2 separate regions of the Homo sapiens genome follow, and region 1 is linked to region 2. Evidence: promoter capture Hi-C in human tissues and cell types (Jung and others, 2019). All regions are on one chromosome and are shown on one strand. Each heading gives the region's core, a stretch centred on a gene start or on the middle of the fragment in contact. The rest is flanking DNA. Distances are from core to core; before and after follow the strand shown. Region 1 holds the start of UBE2Z (ubiquitin conjugating enzyme E2 Z). Region 2 holds the start of PNPO (pyridoxamine 5'-phosphate oxidase).

Region 1 (3,788 bases), core at 1,063-3,562, 970 kb before region 2:
TGAGGCCAGGGTTTGAGAAAGTGGTGCTTGGTACCGCAAGTGTTTGTACTGTCTTGTTGGCTGAGAAATCTCAGCTGAGTACTTGTCAGGCAGGCAGAGAGCAAATTATTATCAAAAGGGCATTGTTTCCTCAGGGGGAGGGGAGGGAGAGAGGAAAAAAATCAGAGATCCCAATGGCATCAAATGTCAGCCTGGAAAAGCCACTTTCCACTTACTCTCACTTCCTCCCACATGGCAATTCATTCACTCCCCACCTCCATGATTCCCAGGTACTACGACTGAATGCTAAATGAAGATTTTTTAGTAACTGGAAAGGCATCATCAACTCCACTAAAAAACTAATTCTATAAACTATACAGTGGACCTTTATTGGTAAGGGGATTGTATGAAGCAAGCCAGCCAGCAGAGAGTAAGACTATCATGGTGGCCTTCTTGCCCAGGGGTGTCTCAGGGTAGAGATCTCTTCAGGCTGGGGAGGGATCCTCAGAAATTGCTAAGAATCTCCCATCTGGAAGATGACATGTGGACTTCCATAGGAGATAAGATTTCTGACTCATATCTCACCAACTGGAATGGATCAGTTGAGAGCAAGGGGCTAAAGAACATTCTAGGTGGCGAAAAGCCTAGGGACTTGCTAGGGTGGGTAGGGACATAAAAAGGGCAAATAGGCGACAAAGCAGAGGAAAGCATTGGCCAAACTCAAAGGTATGTCAGAATTGGATGACTGAAATGGCTGGAGGAGGAAAAGAGTTGAGTGCTGAGTTTCAGTTAGAGGTGGCAATCCCTCCACAGTTGACCTCCTGTGTCAGGCACTGTGCCAGGTACTTTACACACATTATATTAATTTTTATTACAACCTTGAAAAGTAGACACAGAGACATCTGAAAGGACGTGGAACATGGGGAATAAGAACTAAACGAAGATGCTTGTGATGGGGGCATGGGGAGAAGTCAAACAGGTTTCAGGATTAATAGCTAAAGAGCACTGCCCTTTTCTTATGCGATAGGTACTATTCTATGTGCTTCTGGAAAACATCATCTACTAAATGATAGGATCTAAGATCAGTCACCCAAGAAATAAGCACAGAAAGGACTTAGGCCTTTGTTCCTATATTTGATGAGTATATTTGCTTCATAGAAGTAAAACAGACGACCCGGGGAGGGTGGGGGGTGGGGGGAGGGAAATTACAAGAAAGAAGCTCCTGAGTGGGATATTACAATCCAGAGTGGCACTGGGGAATTGGGGGGAGGTAGCCTGTGTTTCTGGAAGAGGCGTAAGAGTGGACAGCTTTGGGACACTGGAAAAGGGGTTCAAGGAAAGATTGGGGCGAGGGAAGCGATCTAGACCTGGGAAAAGACTGTGTGGAGGGAATCTGAGAAAAACGGAGGATAAAAAGAAAGGTTGGCTCGAGTCAGAGGCATGGCAAAGGAAGCTGAGTTCGTCTGTGTTAGGAACGGGGCTCCAGAGGAGAAGAGAGGGGACCGATGGGTGGGGCCTGCGGGCAGCATCTAGCAAGGTTGGGGTGGGGAAGGGGAAATAGGGGCGGCGCCGAAGGCGGGAGGGGGCGTTACTGAAGCGCTAAAGGGTCGGGTTTCCACCCGGAGGTGGGAGGTGTGGGGGAGGGTGGCCGGAATGGAGACGGAGGGCTCACGGGAGGTTGTCGAGGGGCGGGGTCGGATCTGGGCACACGAGGCGGGGGTTGGTGCTTGCGGGTCTGAGGGTGGGGGGAGAAGGGAGTTGGATCCCGACGCCCGGAGCTGGCAAGATTTGGGCCGTGGAGGTGGGCCGCCGCGAGGGCAGCGCAGTGGGTGGGGGGTGAGTTGTAGTGGGAGAGGGTGGGGGGCGGGGAAGGTCGAGCCCCGGAGCTCGGGGCTGGGGGAGGAAAAACCCCGGCTCACCGCTTGATCCGGAGTAGACACTGCGGCGCGGTGCGCTCGCCGTCCCAGTCGGAGCTGAGCGTGGGGTCCCAGTGGCTAAGCAGCGCGGCCCCGTGGGCAGCGGCTGAGGGCGGGAGCCCGGGCAGCGGAGCCAGGCCGCTCCCCGGGCCCCCGGCCCCGCCCGCTGCCGCCGCCGCCGCCCACACATCCGGCAGGAAAGGCGGCCCGAACCCGCCGCCGCTGCCGCTAACGCCAACAACACCAGCAACGCTGCTCGCCCCGGGGCCCGCCGCCCCGGCGCCCGCCGTTGCCGCCTCCTCAGTCGGACTCTCCGCCATCGCTGCTTCGCTTCCGGGACTACTCGGCAGCACGTCCGCCGACCAGAGCGGCCGCTGCTCCCGCCCGCTCCCGCACCACCGAGAACCGGGCCAGAGTGTCCCCACCCCCTCCGCTTCCACAGCCCAGACGGTGCTGGCTCCGCCCACCCCCGCCCCAACCAGCGAGAGGCGCTCTGCAAGAGCGTCCACCTACGGTCCTCCAGGACGGGAGGGGTGGGAACTAGCAGGCCGTGATGGTTCTGGGCTCGTGTGGGTCCTGCGCTGTGCGGAAGTAGCGGAGAGCCCAATTCAAGTGTTGAAAGGGGAGAAGAGAGGAGGGAGTGGGGGAGGAAGGGCCATATCATTCCCGTTAATGGCGGCGACCCTCAGACGTCTGCATGGTTAGGATTGGGGATCCAGCATCCTCATGGGAAGCTCAGTAGAGAAGTTGACTCGCTTTGGGCCCCTTCTCTCGGAAAGGCTCTGCGATTGATCCCTCCTGCACACTTGTGCACCTAGGGCAGGGTACCATTGCCCTTGCCTGCAACAGGACCAAGAGAGAACTCAACTTGGAATGAAAAGCTACCTCTTTTAGAGTTTATTCAACATATATTTATGAAGGGCCTACTAAATGCCAGTCACTGTTGCTAGTTGTTGCCATGGGGATAATGAAACAGAACTAGAGAAGCTTGGTGAAAGGAAGAAACATCAGGCCTCCTGACTCCAAGCTTAGTACTTTTTCTTCCCACAAATCTTGGAATATACAGGAATCGAGGTACTGTGAGTGTAAACCCTGAGGATTCTTTGGGTCTTTCCTAAAATGTTTAAAGTGAAAAATAATCTGCCAGGCTCGGTGGCTCACGCCTGTAATCCCAGCACTTTGGGAGGCCGAGGTGGGCGAATCACGAGGTTAGGAGTTCGAGACCAGCCTAACATGGTGAAACCCCGCCTCTATTAAAAATACAAAAATTAGCCGGGCGTGGTGGCGTGCACCTGTAGTCCCAGCTACTCAGGAGGCTTAGGCAGGTGGATCACTTGAACCCGGGAGGCGGAGTTTGCAGTGAGTTGAGATCACGCCACTGCACTCCAGCCTGGGCGACAGAGCCAGACTCCGTCTCAAAAAAAAAAAAAAAAATTCCTATGGACTAAGAATGACAGGGGCCTTCCTAAAAAACTGTTTTTCCTTGCCGGGCGCGGTGGCTCATGCCTGTAATCCCAGCACTTTGGGAGGCTGAGGCGGGCGGATCACTAGGTCAGGAGATCAAGACCATCCTGGCTAACACTGTGAAACCCCGTCTCTACTAAAAATACAAAAAATTAGCCGGGCGTGGTGGCGGGCGCCTGTAGTCCCAGCTACTCGGAAGGCTGAGGCAGGAGAATGGCGTGAACCCGGGAGGCGGAGCTTGCAGTGGGCGGAGATCGTGCCACTGCACTCCAGCCTGGGCGACAGAGCAAGACTCCGTCTCAAAACAAAAACAAAAACTTTTTTCCCTAGCAAAAATATAGGATCAATATTAACTGGAAACCAGTGGGGCCAGATGTATTTCAGACTTTGGAATGACACACCAAGCAAGGAGTGGGGCAGCGCCGGGTA
Region 2 (3,823 bases), core at 7-2,506:
ATCCTCCCAAGTAGCTGGAATTACAGGCACGCTCCAACATGCTCGACTAATTTTAATTTTTTGTAGAGACAGGGTCTCACTATGTTGCCCAGGCTGGAAAAACTGCATTTTAAACAAGCGTTTCTAGAAATGCCCACATGCAACCAGATTTGGCAACCAGGGCCCTGGACCCCAATTCCTAAAAGGTTCTCTTGGTTCCCCTCCTGAGGAGCGAAAAGGAAAAGAACTTCCCAGTGGTCAGCAGAAAGTACTGAAGGCAGTAAGCTAAGAGCTTTCTCCTCCCCTCCTCCCCGAGCTAGTCCCCTTCCCCCATATTCCACTTACTTTTTTGTCAAACAGTTTGTAAGCTGTTTGTCACTGTACCCACCTAAAGAGGGGCCCATGACCATGCCCACCTGGCACAAGGAGGTTTGGGTGACCCCCAAATCTCCTTGCCCCAGGGGGTGGCCCCAGAAGCCCTGAGGGGCTGTTTCCTCCTACTCCCCTCCCCCCAGTAGATGACTCCGAGGACCCCTCTTCCCCCGCCCTTGAGGGAGGCCCAGCACAGTCCTGACATCCATCACATGAAACCCCGATTCATTCATCACTAGCTGTGGGACTGAGCAAGTTATTTGACCTTGCTACCTGTCGAGTAGCAGGGTTCTAAGCACTTTACAAACATCTTAGACCATAACATCCCCGTGAGGCAGATACTATCACTTCCCAGATGAGGAAACTGAGGCCCAGATACATTAAACATTCCAACCCAGGCAGGCTCCAAAGTTCGAGCTCTTACCCATTACGAAAGGCTGCCTTTTGAACCCATCTTCATTTGCGTTTCCCCGGAACTCCTCCCCTGGTGGGATGTCTTTGAAGCCCCCTTTTCCCACGGGGGGTGATCCTCAAACCTCCTTGCCCCACCGGGTGGCCCCAGAAGCCCCGAGGGGCTCCTACTACTCCCCTCCCCGCTGTAGATGACTCCGGGGACCCCTTTTCCCCCGCCCCTGCAGGAGGCCTGGCCCTAGCGGCGGCACCTCTCGGTCCCCGCGGTAACTCTTGCGCATGGGTCCCAGGTCCATGGCAGCACTGCGACCACACAGGTGACTGAGGTAGCCTGGCCACTCGGCAGGTCGCCCGAACGTCGCCGTGACGCCCCGCAGCCAGCACGTCATGGGGGGCCGCCGGCCACGTGACCCGGCTGTGGCCCGGCACTGGGTTCCTTTGAGTTCGGAACCAATTTCTCACCCTGGACTTCTACCCCGGGGAAGGAAGGATTTGCCAGTCGCCCAACCAAGCTAACAGGTCCTAAGTCCTCGGAGCCAATGAGTTTCCAGGATCGGAGGAGGGAGACAGACACGGAGAGGTCATTGGTTGGAGCTTTTCGGTAACGAGGCCAATTAGAGCGAGAACAGAGGAACCCAGCGGCCAATGGGTAGCGCCTTTGGGGGCGGGAGCAGAGAGACAAGGAAATGCTGTCACCGCGGTTAACACGCACGTGGAGGTTGGTTAAAGGTATAGGAGGATCTCTTGCAGCTCAGGCGGGGCGGAGGATGTGTCCCGGGGGCTTGAGGGGAGTAGTCAGTATTAAGTGGCTGGCCCATAGTAGGTGCCTGTAGGTGAGCTTAGGGCAGGAAGTACCCCCTGGGAAGGGAGACTAGTGGAATGGGAAAAGAAAAATGGAAAATGGAATTAGGGGCCAGACTCTGAGGCAAGGTGATGGGGACACATAGAGAAAAGGGTAATCTGGTTGTGGGGAGAAATTAGGGCATGAGAGTGGGAGAGGTTGAAATGACTTGTGGACCATGCCCCGAGTGGGGAGGTGCAGTGGGGTGAGGAAGAGACGGTGAGGTGAGAAGGAAGATGGCTGAATGGGAAGGGGGAAGAAGGAAATTTGGGACCAAGGTATCCCAGACCAGAGTGGTTTTCCTCTTCTAGTTTTGGTTTTGTTTTGTTTTGTTTGAGACGGAGACTAGCTCTGTCGCTCAGGTTGGAGTGCAGTGGCGCGATCTCGGCTCACTGCAACCTCCACCTCCCGGGTTCAAGCAATTCTCTGCCTCAGCCTCCCGGGTAGCTGGGATTACAGGCGCCCGCCACCACGCCCGGCTAAGTTTTGTATTTTTAGTAGAGACGGTGTTTCACCATGTTGGCCAGGCTAGTCTCAAACTCCTGATCTCAAGTGATCTACCCGCCTTGGCCTCCCAAAGTGCCGGGATTATAGGCGTGAGCCACCGCGCCCGCCACCTCTTCTAGTTTTAAACCCCTTCCCTCCAGCCTCATTTATTTAAGCAAGGGTCAGAGCATTTTACTCCCTTTGCTCATGGTTTCCCCTGCCATGGTGCACTGGAGTTCATAGGAGCCAGTGTCCTGGTAGATAGCAAGGCTGCCAATGTCCCATTTCTCCAGGGTCTCCCCAATCTTTGTCAAGCTTCCCTTTTTCCACATTTTGCCCATGCTAGGTAGTAGGAGTCTAGCCCCTAGGTCAATGCAAGCAATTGCCAACTGAGAGTACACTGAGCAGGTGGCTGTGCATAGCCTTTCCAGGCTGTGGATGCAAGGCTGAAAAATGGGAAACCCACTCATGCCCAGTCCAATTCTGAGCTGGCTGGGGCGGCCTTGGGTCGAGACCTCTCTGTAGCCCTGCTTTCCACCAGCATCAGGAAGGGGAACTGCAAGAGCCATCTAGGCAGGCACCCAGGACTGTGCCAGGTAAGGGGAACTTCCTGGCCTGGCCAGGTGTCTGCATTACAGCTGAGCTTCATGAAGCCCTACATTAGATACCTGTCATCCTTTATGTGTACATAGCTTGAGCCAGATAGAATCTGGAAGACAATTTTGCTGCAAAGAAATAATACATGTCTCAAGGCTTAATGATATTGGTCTATGGATTCTCCACTGGTTGGATTTTTTTGTGCTGCCATCATTTTCCTCCATCAGCATAATTGAGAGAAAGTTGAGTAGATTTACTTTCCTGTTGAAGTTGTCTTTCTTTTTTTTTTTTTTTTTTTTTTTTTTTGAGATGGAGTCTTGCTCTGTCGCCCAGGCTGGAGTGCAGTGGCGCAATCTCGTCTCACTGAAAGCTCTGCCTCCCGGGTTCACGCCATTCTCCTGCCTCAGCCTCCCAAGTGGCTAGGACTACAGGCGCCCGCCACCACGCCCAGCTAATTTTTTGTATTTTTAGTAGAGATGGGGTTTCACCACGTTAACCAGGATGGTCTCGATCTCCTGACCTTGTGATCCGCCTGCCTCAGCCTCCCAAATGCTGGCATTACAAGCGTGAGCCACCGCACCTGGCCGAAGTTGTCTTTCTGTATAAGAACATTGCTGTACTCCTGCCCTCCTAAGCCCCTGCAGTTGAACCTGTGTAAGCAGTAGTGAGTGCACTTCAACTCAGATGGGTTTGGTTCATGGGTTTTTTTTTTTTTTTTTTTTGAGACAGAGTCTCCCTCTGTCACTCAGGCTGGAGTGCAGTGGCGCAATCTTGGCTCACTGCAACCTCTGCCTCCTGGGTTCAAGCCATTCTCCTGCCTCAGTCTCCCAAGTAGCTGGGATTACAGGCGTGTGCCACCACACCTGGCTAATTTTTTGTAATTTTAGTAGAGATGGGGTTTCGCCATGTTGGCCAGGCTGGTATGGAACTCCTGACCTCAAGTGATCCACCCACTTCGGCCTCCCAAAGTGCTGGGATTACAGACGTGAGCCACCGTGCCTGGCCATGGGGTTTTTCTTCACACTCAGCACTCCTGGGCTGCTGCTACCCTGGACCTGGATTCTAGGACACCAAGACTAAGATCATCTATGTACTTAAAAGCCAACAGCTCAGTATAGTGGAAGTAGATACATATTT

What was found. Contacts are between HindIII fragments. The study calls those that stand out against the background at their distance.
Region 1: a contact is called between the fragment with the promoter of UBE2Z here and the fragment with the promoter of PNPO in region 2, in 1 of the 25 tissues and cell types used here (dorsolateral prefrontal cortex).

Annotation. Positions count from the first base shown.
Region 1 is chr17:48,906,931-48,910,718 of GRCh38, reverse strand. It overlaps UBE2Z (ubiquitin conjugating enzyme E2 Z), which reads right to left and starts at 2,312. Exons shown (of 7, transcript NM_023079.5): 1 at 1,899-2,312. The coding sequence starts at 2,215. It overlaps LOC105371814 (a long non-coding RNA gene), which reads left to right and starts at 1,736. Exons shown (of 4, transcript NR_135674.1): 1 at 1,736-1,780. RefSeq lists enhancers at 531-580, 601-650 and silencers at 1,524-1,653, 1,924-2,173. The HindIII fragment of the contact is 7,727 bases long and covers 1-3,788 here.
Region 2 is chr17:47,939,004-47,942,826 of GRCh38, reverse strand. PNPO (pyridoxamine 5'-phosphate oxidase) reads right to left here and starts at 1,256. Exons shown (of 7, transcript NM_018129.4): 1 at 1,014-1,256. The coding sequence starts at 1,151. SP2-AS1 (SP2 antisense RNA 1) reads left to right here and starts at 1,423. Exons shown (of 3, transcript NR_103857.1): 1 at 1,423-1,480. RefSeq lists an enhancer at 1,210-1,504. The HindIII fragment of the contact is 7,163 bases long and covers 1-3,823 here.